2 separate regions of the Homo sapiens genome follow, and region 2 is linked to region 1. Evidence: promoter capture Hi-C in 16 types of primary human blood cells and fetal thymus (Javierre and others, 2016). All regions are on one chromosome and are shown on one strand. Each heading gives the region's core, a stretch centred on a gene start or on the middle of the fragment in contact. The rest is flanking DNA. Distances are from core to core; before and after follow the strand shown.

The links. The method cuts DNA at HindIII sites, captures the fragments that hold promoters and counts their contacts. A CHiCAGO score of 5 or more calls a contact.
Region 2: a fragment that was not itself captured here is called in contact with the fragment with the promoter of DSCAM-AS1 in region 1 in 1 of 17 cell types (M0 macrophages); the score reaches 5.6 in M0 macrophages.

Annotation. Positions count from the first base shown.
Region 1 is chr21:40,379,208-40,386,319 of GRCh38, reverse strand. DSCAM-AS1 (DSCAM antisense RNA 1) reads right to left here and starts at 3,237. Exons shown (of 2, transcript NR_038900.1): 1 at 2,865-3,237; 2 at 962-1,741. All of the region lies in intron 3 of DSCAM (DS cell adhesion molecule), which reads left to right. The HindIII fragment of the contact is 5,736 bases long and covers 590-6,325 here.
Region 2 is chr21:41,075,517-41,082,628 of GRCh38, reverse strand. No RefSeq gene overlaps it. Among named protein-coding and RNA genes, the nearest start is that of LINC00323, 69 kb to the left of the region's middle. The HindIII fragment of the contact is 680 bases long and covers 2,623-3,302 here.

The sequences.
Region 1 (7,112 bases), core at 1,988-4,487:
CTGGGAAGAAGCTTAGTGTCCTGACAGTATTTTCCTTTTAATTTTGCAAAGTTTACAAAATCCATTAAGAATTGCTTTGCAATGAAAAATATACACATTTTTATACTTTTTGTTTTCAAGTGCTTCATTCCATTTATATTTAGCGGTGAGGCGGGCCTAGGCAAAAATGAAATAAAAGCACAGTGTTAAGATCTGCAAGGCCATTAAATTGCAGTGCACGTAATTAATGGACCATGATATTGCTTAAACACAAATGTACACTAATCTTGATCCAGCGGTACTAGTGATTTGTTGTTACAGGGCTAGATCCACCTAAAGCTCATGGTGAACACTTACAACCTTGCACAGAAAGTGACTGTGCTTGAAAGCACGAAGGCAAAATCCCATTGGCCAAAGATACCTTGTATTCCTAGCTGTGAATCGGTTTATCCTCTTTATTTTATACTTTGCATTATTTTATTACTTGGAAGAATTCACCCACTTTTTTCTGACAAAGGCTTATCAGATTTTTCTTCTTAAAAAAATATATATAAAGTTTTGAAGAAAAGACAAAGCATTGCAAAGAGCTGTCAGAGGGGGACGAGAAGCTTACAAAGTGAGCAGGTGGCACACAGCCTGTCTGCAGTGGTCATGTGAGAGCCAAACCCCTCAGCCACATTAACAGCCTACAGCATGTGCCAAGCCCTTAAGAAGTCACATAGCATTTCAGAGAATCCCACAAAACCAAAAACACAAATTCTGTCAATGCAATACATATATTTCTAGGTAGACGTATTAGTACGTCTCTTATGTGGGTGCCGAGGAATCTTGTAAAAGTTTGTGCAAAATTGACGTCAGTTTTACTGCTTGTCAGCAGTGAAATGAGTGGATTCATTGATTCATTCATTTGACAAACATTTAATGAACCACTACTCTGTATGTGTTCTAGGGACTGGGAATACAGCATTGAACAAAATACAGAACTAAATGCATGCTTGATGGAGCTTTTATTGCCATGGTTAGCATGAGTTACATTCATAAAATATACTTTATTTTCATTAAAAAGAATGAGCTAGATTTCTTTATATCAACATAGAGAGATCTTAAGGAAACATAACGTTGGATGGGAAAAGTGAGTTTTTCCATGAGAAATAGTAAAATACTTATGTAAGTTTGAAAAACAAAGAGAAAATACAGAACCATACTATGTGAAGTTCATTGTCACAGCTATGTGTGGGAGTGTGTGTGTAATAAAATAAAAAGTCGAAACTGGGAATACACACTAATATTTCTGATAATAGGGTTTTTTAGGAGAAAAATATAGGATGGGGAGGGAACAAAGAGAAAAATAAAGCATTTTCTGTAAAGTTTTATTTATTTCATTAAAAATAAATAAAGCAAATTACACCAAATGTTAACAATGATCAATTTTAAGAAATGGGTACATGGATGAGTATGTCATGCCTATGTGGGTGATTGGTACTTTTTCAGTTAAATAAATAAATGGCAGTTGGAGGAGGGACAGAGAAGGACATGGGGAGTGAGACCAAACAAGGATCATGATGAGACCAGAACTTCCCTAGAGGAGTGGCCCGTTGTGAGCCTGAGAGATCCCCTGTAGCGACACTGAGCAGAGCTCCCTGTGCCTCTTTCCGTCCTGGCCTCACGCTGTCTGGTTGGCTTTCCCGATCCGTCGTCCATCTCTGTTGTCCTGTTGTTGTTGTTGTGGTTTTGAGATGGGGTTTCGCTCTTGTTGCCCAGGCTGGAGAGCAATGGTGCGATCTCAGCTCACCGCAACCTCCACCTCCCAAATTCAAGCAATTCTCCTGCCTCAGCCTCCCGAGTAGCTGGGATTACAGGCATGGGCCACCATGCCTGGCTAACTTTGTATTTTTAGTAGAGATGGGGTTTCACCATGTTGGTCAGGCTAGTCTCTAACTCCTGACCTCTGATGATCCACCCACCTAGGCCTCCCAAAGTGCTGGGATTACAGCTGTGAGCCACCACGCCAGGCCTTCTGCTGTCCAGTTTTAGTAACAGCTTTAGCAACTGCCTTGCTCTGCTCTCAGCATTCTCTGTTTTAACCATCCCGATTTCACCTCTGCCTCCCTTATGTCTACCTTTTGTCTCACAGTCTGACAATGAAAATCATCTGCCACTATCCTAGCACCAACCTGTGGGCCTCCCTGAACTCCCACTTACCTGGGCCACGTCAGCCCTGCAGCCCACGGAGCTCCTCCAGGGGGTGCCTCTCCTGTGTTTCCTTGGCTGTGATCTCCAAGCAGAGGGCAGGCCAACTGCGTGTTTCCTAGTCCCCCTAAGTAGCTTCATCTTTCCCTCCTAGCAGTAGACCCCTATCCCTTTCTCTAAGAAACACTGTATAACCCACCTCTTCCAGGAAGCATCGTGAACACAGTACTTCTCAAATCTTTGTCATTCATGAACTATCTTTATGATATCTGCAATCATTGAATGCCATCTGTGCTAGTGTTTTTGTCCTTTGAATAATTCTTGTTTACTTAAAACAATGTAATTATAAAAAAATGCATTACTACTTTTAAATGGAAAATCAGTTTAACTAGCCATACAGATAAATGCAATACAATGAAAGAAAAACAATAATATTAAATTCTAGTCAGATACAATTGCCTTCCAAAGACTCTAAACCAGCGGTTTACTTTTCCTTTGTCTAAAAAAAAAGAAAAGAAAGAAAAAGGAGACTAAGAAGTGTTAGAGCAATAGTGAAGATAACTTACTTCTGCAAAAACGTGCTGAGAATTCTAGTGGAGGCACCTAAGTCAGTGAGTGGATAACTGGTACCTTCTGTGGCTTTCCCTTTGAAAGAATCACAAGAATTGAGATTTACAGAGGAGAAAAAGTCTCACCATGTGTCCGGATATCATTTCTCTATAGCGTCTTATCAGCTGCATACCATCAGTGGGTTCCACTCCATTTTAATTCATCATGGATATATCATTTTCTTTTCTTTTCTTTTCTTTTTTTCTTTTTTTAGAGGGAGTCTTGCTGTGTCACCCAGGCTGGAGTGCAGTAGTGGCATGATCTCAGCTCACTGCAGCCTCTGCCTCCCGGGTTCCAGCATTTCTCCTGCCTCAGCCTCCTGGGTAGCTGGGATTCCAGGCGCACACCACCACGCCCGGCTAATTTTTGTATTTTTAGTAGAGACGGGTTTTGCCACGTTGGCCAGGCTGGTGTCGAATTCCTGGCCTTAGGTGATCTGCCTGCCTCAGCCTCCCAAAGTGCTGGGATTACAGGCATGAGTGACCTGCCCAGCCAGATATATCATTTCCAATCTCTCTTTACATCAGCGCTTACGTATATCCAACTGACACTGTTTGCCTCTGTTTTGCAATTGTTTGCACTTTTACTTTATGGTATGTTTCCTTTCCTTCTCATTAGGAATTAGCCTTTTAGGTAACTTGGATTCCATTACTAGGTCTGCATATGATGGGCAGTTGCTACATGATTTTATTAATACCATTTTGTTACAAAGGTTATTGCAAGGCAATGGAGTTTGTGATAAGCTAGATCTGGGGAAGTCATTTAGGGAATTGAGTTACTCTCACAGTGCAAGGCTCTGTGACATGAAAGACAGTCTCAAAGATTCTCATGGGGTCAGACTATTTGAAACCAAAAGGCAGTGGAGTGGGAGTGACACGAGGGACCGCATCTGACATGGTTTCTACCCTTGCGTGTTCTTGTAAGTATACATATTTGCATGTACATTTGTATGGATAGCTCAGTAAACTCATTATAGTTTCCTTTGACATCATCACGTGTCATTGGGAAACAAATGTAATCCAAGACCTTCAAATGATGTTGCAGTTTTAAAAAAATAAACTGCTTTCTCTGCTATTCCCATTATAAATGCAACCAAGCCTATGGCCTTATAGACTTGCTGGTCTCAAAGCATGTGTTTGAGGTGGGAAAAAATGTGTCATGTCCAAGGAAATGATACAAGATATACTTTGAAAATAGAACTGATAGGACATAGAATTGGCCTGAATGTCAGGATGAGGCAAAGGAGATGAGGACCAAGGCGGCTGCTAGGTCTTGGTGAGGAGCCCTGAACAGGTGAAGAGTCCCCCTACCAGGAATAAGAACTAGGGGACTTGCTAAAGCAGGAATCTTTAATTTAAAATGCAGAAATATTTAAAGAGAGAACTTTAAGAATCCAAGGTATACCAGCTGATGCTAAAAGACGATTAGCCTTGCTTTGAAACGGAAGCCTAGTCAGAAAAGTAACAATTCCATCACTAAGATGTTGAAAAAGGCTCTTCAAACATTTTTTGCTCTGACTCACAGTAAGAGATACATAGAATAAAGACATTTTATCTTAGAACTCAGTAATGCATACACATAAATACACACATAAATATACAAACACACACATAACTTTATGTATGCACAGGTGTACTGAAACAAGCTGCAGAATATTTATCACCACTATTTGATACACACTGATACATTCTATGCTCTTTTATTTCATTTTTTTAAAAAGTAAAGCTGCAATCCATGAAACTGATTTCACAACCTATTAGTAGGTGAACCCAAAGTGTGAAAAACCATTATCCCATAATATTAAGTGGCCACAACATAGTGTTAGTTTCATTCTTTATGGTGGTTCCTATTTTTCCAGATTCTTTCCCATAATCCTATGCCATCTGTATCAGGTAGACAAACTTTACAGTTAATTTTCAATGTGTTTTGCCAATAAGCCCAGTGTCTTAAATTCCTTTTGGGTTGCTAACACAGACCAGGTAAGCATAGTCACTGTGGGTTGAAGTGCCGTGCTCTGACCTTCCTTCACTTATTTTTTCCTTTTTGTATGTGTTGCTTTTTAATCAGCACTGTATTGTGCACCCACAACTGGAACAGACAGTCAACCTGAAATACACATTCCCTTCCAGCCCCAAAATGCAGAAATCTTGTGGGACAGTAAATAATGCTGATGTACCTCTTCTAAACATGAGTCCGCCTGATACAACGAGCACATCCAATAGCATTCTCTTCCTTCCCCTTTCCATATCTCTATAAAGGGCTACTTTCAATTCCCCAAAGTCCAAAATAAGTCAGCCATGGACAGCCAGTGCCACACCCCGTGGTTCTTATTCCTGGCAGGAGGACTCTTCACCTGTTCAGGGCTCTTCACCAAGACCTAGCAGCCACCTTGGTCCTCATCGCCTTTGCCTCATCCTGGCATTCAGGCGAGTTCTATGTCCTATCAGTTCTATTTTCTTTTTTTTTTTTTTTTTTTTTTGAGACGGAGTCTCGCTCTGTCGCCCAGGCTGGAGTGCAGTGGCACGATCTCGGCTCACTGCAGGCTCCGCCTCCCGGGTTCCCGCCATTCTCCTGCCTCAGCCTCCCGAGCAGCTGGGACTACAGGCGCCCGCCACCACGCCCGGCTAATTTTTTGCATTTTTAGTAGAGACGGGGTTTCACCGTGTTAGCCAGGATGGTCTCGATCTCCTGACCTTGTGATCCGCCCGCCTCGGCCTCCCAAAGTGCTGGGATTACAGGCGCGAGCCACCGCGCCCGGCCTCAGTTCTATTTTCAAACCATATCCTGTGTCAGTTCCTTGGATATGCCACAGTTTTTCCCGCCTCAAACATACTTTTCCTTTAACCTTGTTCTTAGCTCTACTTATCCATGAATAATCCCTTCTTATCTTCCTACCTTCTGTGGCTCTGCTGAAGTGCACGTCCTCAGAAATCCTTACATACACACCCCACTCCAAACCCCCACCATCTAAACAGCTCTTCTCTTTACTAGAGTCAACTTCTGTTTCTCAATTCATGTAAATGCATTTATGAGAGTGGATTTATTTTCTTTGTCAATGTACTCTTTTTGTCTGTGTTCCCAACTGAAATATTTGCTTTCAAATGTCAGTGGCCAAAACCATCTTGTTCATCGTATAAATAAATAAATACAATTTATAAGTTTTACGAGCTTCTTTGGTTCTTTAATAAAAAATTCTTGAAGTGATTCATTTAAAAGTAAAGGAATTATACAATTATATTCTTTCTAAGGATTCATTATTTTAAACAACTAGAAATCTAACTAGAGCAAAGATTAGTGACAGACTTGAATATCTGCACAAAGATCTGATCATTAACAAACTAAATAGGGTAATTAGGTATACAGTTGGAATGCAGTATGCAGGCTTAAATTAGTAGTGTATAATTGAGCCTCATTTAACTGCAGGAGAATTTCACTGAGAGAATTTTATTTACATAAAAGAAATGTCTTAGTGAAATTGCTTTGAGAGAATTTAAAATATGTACACCAAATCTCTCCTTACATACTGGATCCAGCAGAATTGTAAGCTTATTCCTCATGCCCCATGTGATGGTGTTATTTCTAGCCAAATGATTTCTTCCAGGCGGCTCAAGATCCACGCTGGGGCTTCATTATTTCTTGGATATCTTGATGATACTCTCATAAACATAATAGGCTCCAAAGAAGGTTAAATAAAATGATATGGTGAGAGCTCTGCCCCCTCAATATGATCCCTTATTTTACTGATCCTATTTTTAGAAAAAAACTCGAAGTATGTATATCTTCTAAACAGTCACTTAATTTAGCACTGTGCAAACCTTTGGGGGCAGCAGGTAAGTGGGGCAAACAAGAGGATCCCTTTGTCTTCAGAGAGGCAACTGCCATTTTGAGGAGGCAGCTCTGACACCCAAATCAACTGGACTGATGCAATTATGTGTGAAATGGGGAATTATCACAGAAGTTCAGGAAGAGACAGAGATCAGCTACATGGCAGATTCAACTTTTGTGTGAGGTATTTGGAGGGGAGGGAATACAAAGACCAGGGTGAATATTGAAAGTCTCCCCTTCTGCTTTTAGGCAAGTCCAGGTAGCGACCAGCTTGAAAAGCAAGCATAATAAAAGCCCTCTTTGACGCATCTACTCCCGACAGCAACATCATCCTAAATTTATCTCCTTCTATGTTGTGTGTTACATGGGTTTGGTTTACGTCTACTGTGTCCATATGCTCACCACCCACTGACATCTTTTTCCAAAATACATTTTAACTACCCAAGAAGCACATTAATAGAGTCTTCTTTTAAGATACTCAAATACGTGACAGTGGGAAATGAAACATA
Region 2 (7,112 bases), core at 1,713-4,212, 700 kb before region 1:
AGAACTCCAAAAGAGGGGAGAGTGACTGGGAGGTAAGGGTTGAAATACTGTCTATTGGGTGCTATGCTCACTATTTGAGTGAGGGGTTCACTGAGAGCTCAAACTTTAGCATTATGCAATACACATACCCCCTGAATCTAAAACAAAACAAAACAATCCCACTACCAAAAAAAAGTCAAAATAAATTTCAAGTATCTCCTACTTCTGCTGTTTCTTTAGGAGTTCTTCTTCACTGGAGAATGTTTTGGATTATGAGAGGAATTCTTGAGGAAGACTGGGTTAGCAAATGCCTTTCTGCTCTATTCAGCCTCAGAAGCCCATGCTCTATTAATGAGGACTGCATGCTGGAGCGTTGCCATGGTGTGAAGGAAGAGACACTTCTAATTTGCTTCCTAAAAATTGAATCATCATAGCGTGAATTTCTCTTAGTCTCTCATGATTCCAAACTCACCTGGTGCTAGGTATGCAGCTAGGCCTTATTTATTTATTTTCAATGATGAGGCTGAAACTACCTTTGACAGAGTACTATTCTAGTCTGGAGAGACTAAGTGTTAAAACAAACAACTCCTAAATCCCGGTGGCTCAAAGTCATTTTATTTCTTACTCACAAGAGTCTAATGAGGTTAGGTGGCTTTCTTGGGTGGTTCTCCTACATGTGCTAATTGAAGAATCCAGGTTCCTTTTCTTAATCAAAATTAAAAATCTAAGTCCCCTAACCATTTCAATAGACGCCTTGTCTTGGCAAAGGCATTCCAAAGTTAACCTGAACCATGAGTTCAGGCCATGATGGGAAGTGGGAGCTGACATGCCTCATTATCCCCTACTCCTTTTTGTAATTACTGATATAACAGACTTTAAGTCTGATAAGAAACATTTGCAATTTATTCTCTCTGAAGCCTGCTACCTGGAAGCTTCATCTGTATAATAAAACCTTGGTCTCCACAACTGTTATCATAAACCTGACATTCCTTTCTATTGATAATAACTCTTTTACCCAATTGCCAACCAGAAAATCTTTGAATCCACCTATGGCCTGAAAGACCTTGCTTCCAGTTGTCCTTGCCTTTCTGGATCAAACCAATGCATATCTTACATATATTGATTGGTGCCTTATGTCTCCATAAAATGTATAAAACCAAGCTGTGCTCTGACCACCGTGGGTAAATGTCATCAGGATCTCCTGAGGCTGTGTCACAGGCACATCCTTAACCTTGGCAAAATAAACTTCTCGACTGAGACCTGTTTCAGATATGTTTTCATTGACATTTTCTTCAAGTGGTTCTGCCGTCTTAGAGTTCTTCATGTTTAGCCTCATGGTTGGGAGAGATGGAGCATGGAAGACAACATGAGATGCTTCAGAGCCAGGTGGAAGCGGCATTTCACCCACACTTGTTACCAGAAAGGGGTCCTGATGCAGACCCCAAGAGAGGGATCTTGGGTCTCATTCAAGAAAGAATTTGGGGTGAATCCATGGAGTCAAGTGAAAGCAAGTTTACTAAGAAAGTAAAGGAATAAAAAATGGCTACTCCATAGGGAGAGCCGCCCTGAGGGCTGCTGTTTGCCCGCTTTTATGGTGATTTCTTGATTATATGCTAAACAAGGAATGGATTATTCATGAGCTTTCCAGGAAAGGGGTGGGCAATTCCCAGAACTGAGGGTTCCTCCCTTTTTAGACCATATAGGGTAACTTTTGGACACTGCCTTGGCATTTGTAAACTGTCATGGTGCTGGAGAGAGTGTCTTTTAACATGTTAATGCATGAGCAGTGAGGATGACCACAGGTCACTTTCCTTGCCTTATTGGTTTTGTGGGTTTTGGCCAGCTCCTTTACTGCAAACTGTTTTATCAGCAAGGTCTTTATGAACTGTATCTTGTGCCGACCTCCTATCTCATCCTGCCTAACCTCCTGGGAATGCAGCCCAGCAAGTCTCAGCCTTATTTTACCCAGTCCCTATTCCAGATGGAGTCACTCTGGTTTAAACACCTCTGACACATTCATTGACCAGACCCCAGTCAGATGTCCCAACCAAACTGCAAAAGAAGGTAGGTAGGAAGTGTAGAGATTTCTCATATACCTAGGAAGACACAGAGGGATTTGGGTGGATCTGGCAGTCTGTGATGCTTGTAATTAAGGAAATGTTTACATCATTGATAACTATCAATCGTGTATAAAATTCCTCCAGTTGTTCTTTTGATCTTTAGGGCAGAATTGGGTCCTCATAGCCCTAAGATCATGGCACACTGGCATCACTGTGGTGTGCAGGGCTCCTTTTTATTTGCCCTTCCCCCTTGTACCAGCTCTGCCTCTCCTACACCTCTCATAGCCGCTCTCTCCAAAGTGTTTATTATGTGTTCTGAAGTATTCATGTGCCTTGTAGAAGGAGCATCGTAGAGTGGGTTTCTGCCTCCTCCCATCTTTTCCAATTCTTGATATTATTCATGACGTATATAAAGTGGTCTGCCATTGTAATTTTGCACTAGTTTGAATGATAGGGTCTCTCCAAAAGTCATGTTGAAACAAAACTGCCCAAACAGTAGTATTACGAGGTGGGGCCTTCAGGAGGTGATTAGGCTATGAGGGCTCTCCCTTCGTGAAATGAGATTGGTGCCTTATAAGAAGCTTGAGGTGGCCAATTTTCCTCCTTCTATCTCTTCTGTTATGTGAGGACACAGCATTCCTTTCCTGCAGAGGGTACAGCAACAAAAGGGCCATCTTGGAGGCAGAGACAGGGATCCCATCAGATGCTGAAACAGCTGGTGTCTGGATCTTAGCTTCCAGAACTGTGAGAAAGAAATTTCTGTTCTTCATAAATTATCCAATCTCAGGTGTTTTGTTATAGCATCACAAATAAACCATAGTAGGTTTTATTTGTGTTACTTTGATCACCACTGATTTCTATACCTGCTTACACATACCCTTCTGTAGGTTCTTAGTCATGTTTTTGTTTTCTATAGAATTTCAATTTTCTATAAATTTTCTTCTTGCTGATTTATAAGAGTGTACATTCTAAATATTAATATGCTGTTGATTTTTGATGAGGCAAATCTCCTAATCTGTCATGTGTCTGGTAACTTAGTTTTTAGCATTTGTCCCTAAACCAAAAGCCTTAATTTTGCTGCATTGAATTGACCCATTAATAAATAACTTCATGGCTTGTTCTTTTTGGTACTTGTTTAAACAATCTTGTGCTAATTTTGGGTCACAAAGACCTTTCCTATATCTTTGCAATTACTTTCAACTTTTAGGTTTTTAAGCTGTCTGGAGTTTAAATGTTTTGATGACGTCAGCTGGGAATAAAGCTTTATTTTTCTCCATAGTGATTCAATTTCTTGCAAATCATCTACTAAACAATCTCTTCTCTTTGCACTGTACTATGGTGCTGCCTTCATTATACACAAAGTTGGTGCAAGACTATCCCTGAGCTCCTTCAGGGGTCTCATTGATCTATTTGTCCAAATCTGTGCAGAACCATATTGCTCTTATTACAATAGTTTTATCAAGTTAAGTCCACCGTGATCCTTATCTTTAGTCTTCATTTTCAAAATCAGTTTAGTCACTTGTGGCTTTTTATATGTAATTTTGGAATTATTGTGTTGAATTCATTTAAAAATCACCTGAAATATTAAGATTGCATTAAATATACAGATTAATTTAGAGATAATTGGTATATCTACAATATTAAGCTGGTTAATTGGTGTATCTACTATATTAGGTATACTATATTATGCTATTTGCACAAGGATCAGGGCATAAATTTCCATTTATTCATATTACTAATATCTACTAATTACTTAAACATTTCCATAAAAGTATCATGCATTCCCTCTTAGGCTAATTTTTTTAAAAACGTGGGTTTTAGTCATAACAAAGTTTAATTGGGGATGCATTCTTCTGAGAGGGTTTCTGTCAGATTCCATCACAAATGCCTGTAGAAATGTGTCCCTCTCGGTAAGAGTTGGCTGGTTCTGCCTCCATCATCAACCTCATTCTCAGATGGAGCTCTTCAGAAAACGTAAAAAGCTCCCATCAATTAAAATAAATTAACTGCACCCTGGGGATATGATTTAAGACATGAACTCTGCCTGAGTAGAAAAATTTCAGCCTATTTCAACCCCAACAATCCTTCAACATCATTTACACCCCAGGGAGCTCTGGGACCTCTGTTTTGCTTATGAAAATAACACGCATTAAGAAACGAGGACACTGGAAATGAGTACTCTTTGGAGAAAGACTCAGGGCCTCTCTGAACTCCTCCACCAACATAGTGTTCACAAAACTATACGTAGTTTTTCTTTTGCGTAGTTTTACCCAAGAACTTATGCCACTAAAAACCCAGCTTAGGATGGCCTGAGGCCAGTACAAATTTTGTTCTGAAGTCTTGTGTTTTAATAGTAAAATTTTATTCAAAATTTGAATTCTCCAAAATATGCTGTTTACAATTTTTTTTTTCTAGGCTCAACATGTTGGGAGGTAAAACGGACTCTCTAGAAGGTTGTGCTACATTCGACCTACAGCTTTGCATAACTCAGGCACACTGCCCAGGGGGCTCTCTGAAGACAATTCAGGTTTTTTTGTTTGTTTGTTTTTTGTTTTGTTTTTGTTTTTGTTTTTTAGACAGAGTCTCGCTCTATTACCAGGCTGGAGTACAATGGCATGATCTCGGCTTACTGCAACCTCCGCCTCCTGGGTTCAAGTGATTCTGCTGCCTCAGCCTCCTGAGTAGCTGGGACTACAGGTGCGTGACACCACGCCTGGTTGATTTTTTTGTATTTTTAGTAGAGAAGGGGTTTCATCCTATTAGCCAGGATGGTCTCCATCTCCTGACCTCGTGATCCACCTTCCTTGGCCACCTGAAGTGCTGGGATTACAGGCGTGAGCCACCGCGCCCAGCCTATTTTTTTTGTATTACATTTTGCTTGGGGATTGTTAGGGGCTGAATTGTCCTCCCCGTTCTCTGGTCCCCAATTCATATGTTGAAGTCCTGACCTCCAGTACCTCAGATGTCACTATATTTGGAGGTATAGTCTTTTAAGAGGCAATTGAGTAAAACGTGAGACCATCAGAGTGGGCCTTAACCCAGTCTGACTGGAATCCTTGTAAGAAGAGATCAGGACACAGAGGGATGACCCTGTAAAGATGCAGGGAGAAGGTGGCCATTGCAAAGCCAAGGAGGGGGGCTCAGGAGAAACGACCTGCTGACCCCTTGATCTTGGACCTCCAGCCTCCAGAATGCTGAGACAGTCAGTGTCTGCTGCGTAAGCTCCCCTGCTCCGTGGTTGTTTGTTACAGCAGCCGAAGCAGAATAATACAGGGATGGACCCGTAGTTTCTATTGTTAAAAGGATATTTTTCTTTGGGAGGCTGAGGTGGGCGGATCATTTGAGGATAGGACTTCGGGACCAGCTTGATCAACATAGTGAAACCCCATCTCTACTAAAATACAAAAATTAGCCGGGTGTGGTGGCGGGTGCCTATAAACCCAGCTACTCGGAGGCTGAGGCAGGAGAATCGCTTGAACTGGAGAGGTGGAGGTTGCAGTGAGCCGAGATTGCACCACTGCACTCCAGCCTGGGTGACAGAGCAGAGTGAGACTCCCTCTCAAAAAAAAAAAAATACTTTTAAAGGATCTCTCTAGAGGACCTTGTAGTCCTCCAACCTTCTTTGATCCTTCCACAAATTATTGGTTTCCTTTTTTTTTTTTTCTTTGAGTTGGAGTCTCGCTCTGTTGCCCAGGCTGGAGTGCAGTGGCATGATCTTGGCTCACTACAACCTCCGCCTCCCAGGTTCCTATGATTCTCCTGCCTCAGCCTCCTGAGTAGCTGGGACTACAGGTGCCTGCCACCATGCCCGGCTAATTTTTGTATTTTTAGTAGAGACGGGGTTTCACCACGTTGGCCAGGCTGGTGTCAAACTCCTGACCTCAGGTGATCCGCCTGCCTCGGCCTTCCAATGTGCTGGGATTACAAGCGTGAGCCACCGTGCCCTGCCTATTGGTTTCTTTCTGGGCAATAAAGACCAGAAAGAGGTCAGCGTGGGCCAGAGGAAGGAAGAGGGGAGCTGAGGAGTGAGCTTAGTCCGGGGTGCACTGGTGGTTCACGGCAAGCAGGAACTCCACTCAGGGGAGAAGAGGTGACCTCCAGAGAATCCTGAGGAAAGAGGAGGCACGGGTCACGCCAGGTCATGATGCTGACACAGGATTCTTTGGGTTCCCCTTCTTCAGCTGGAAATGTCCACAGCTGGTGGTGCTCCTGCCCAGGCTTTGCTGGGCTCCGGGCTCACCGCTGCACTTGCCCCTCCCACTCGCCAGGCAGGCTGCATTCGGCTTGTGCCTGCGGCCCAGATCTCACACCTGCCAAGGGTGGGTCAGGCACGCGCTGCTGTGGCGGGGCCGACAGCTCCAGGTGCTGGCACAGCGCTGGCTCCGTGTGAGGCTGTGGCTGGACCAGGCATACCACAAGCGGCGTCCGCCTTGGGAGCCAGCATCTAGATAAGGGGAGCATGGTGGTGCCTAAAAACTCAGAGACGACAGCCACTGTGGAGCTCCAAGGGGGTGATACAGTGGGTCACGGCTCTGGCTCAGGGAGTCCTGAGGTCTGGGCCCCAGAAGGGTCGCAGCTTCTTCGAGGTGTCTGATTCTGGATAAAATAACAATGTTCGTGTTACAGTTCATTCATTCCCACCATCTGCACGCTTCGCAAACGGGGGCGTGTCCCAGCCCGTTGGGTCCTGCCACCCTGGGGCAGCCCGCAGCCCCTGGGCTGGCCTGGCCACCGCTGCTTCCCATCACACGGGGCAGCCACCCAGTACCGGTGGAGGGTGGGAGGGCTACGGTGTTACCGCCCCTTTTGCACCCACGATTCATCGGGTCCTGGGTTCCTGCGTCCAAGAAGAATGAGGTTACACAGACCACCAGAGAGTGAGCAAGGCAGAGAAGAGTTTCATTGAGCGACAGAACAGCTCTCAGTGGAGATGGGACCCGCAGTGGGTAGACCCTACCTGAAGGCGGCAGGTAGTTCCCAGTCCGGGGTTTTTTATGGGTTCAGAATGCAGGAGTGCATGCTGATTGGTCCATGGTCAGGCCTGGAAAAAGCACCATTTGACTGGCTAAAAGG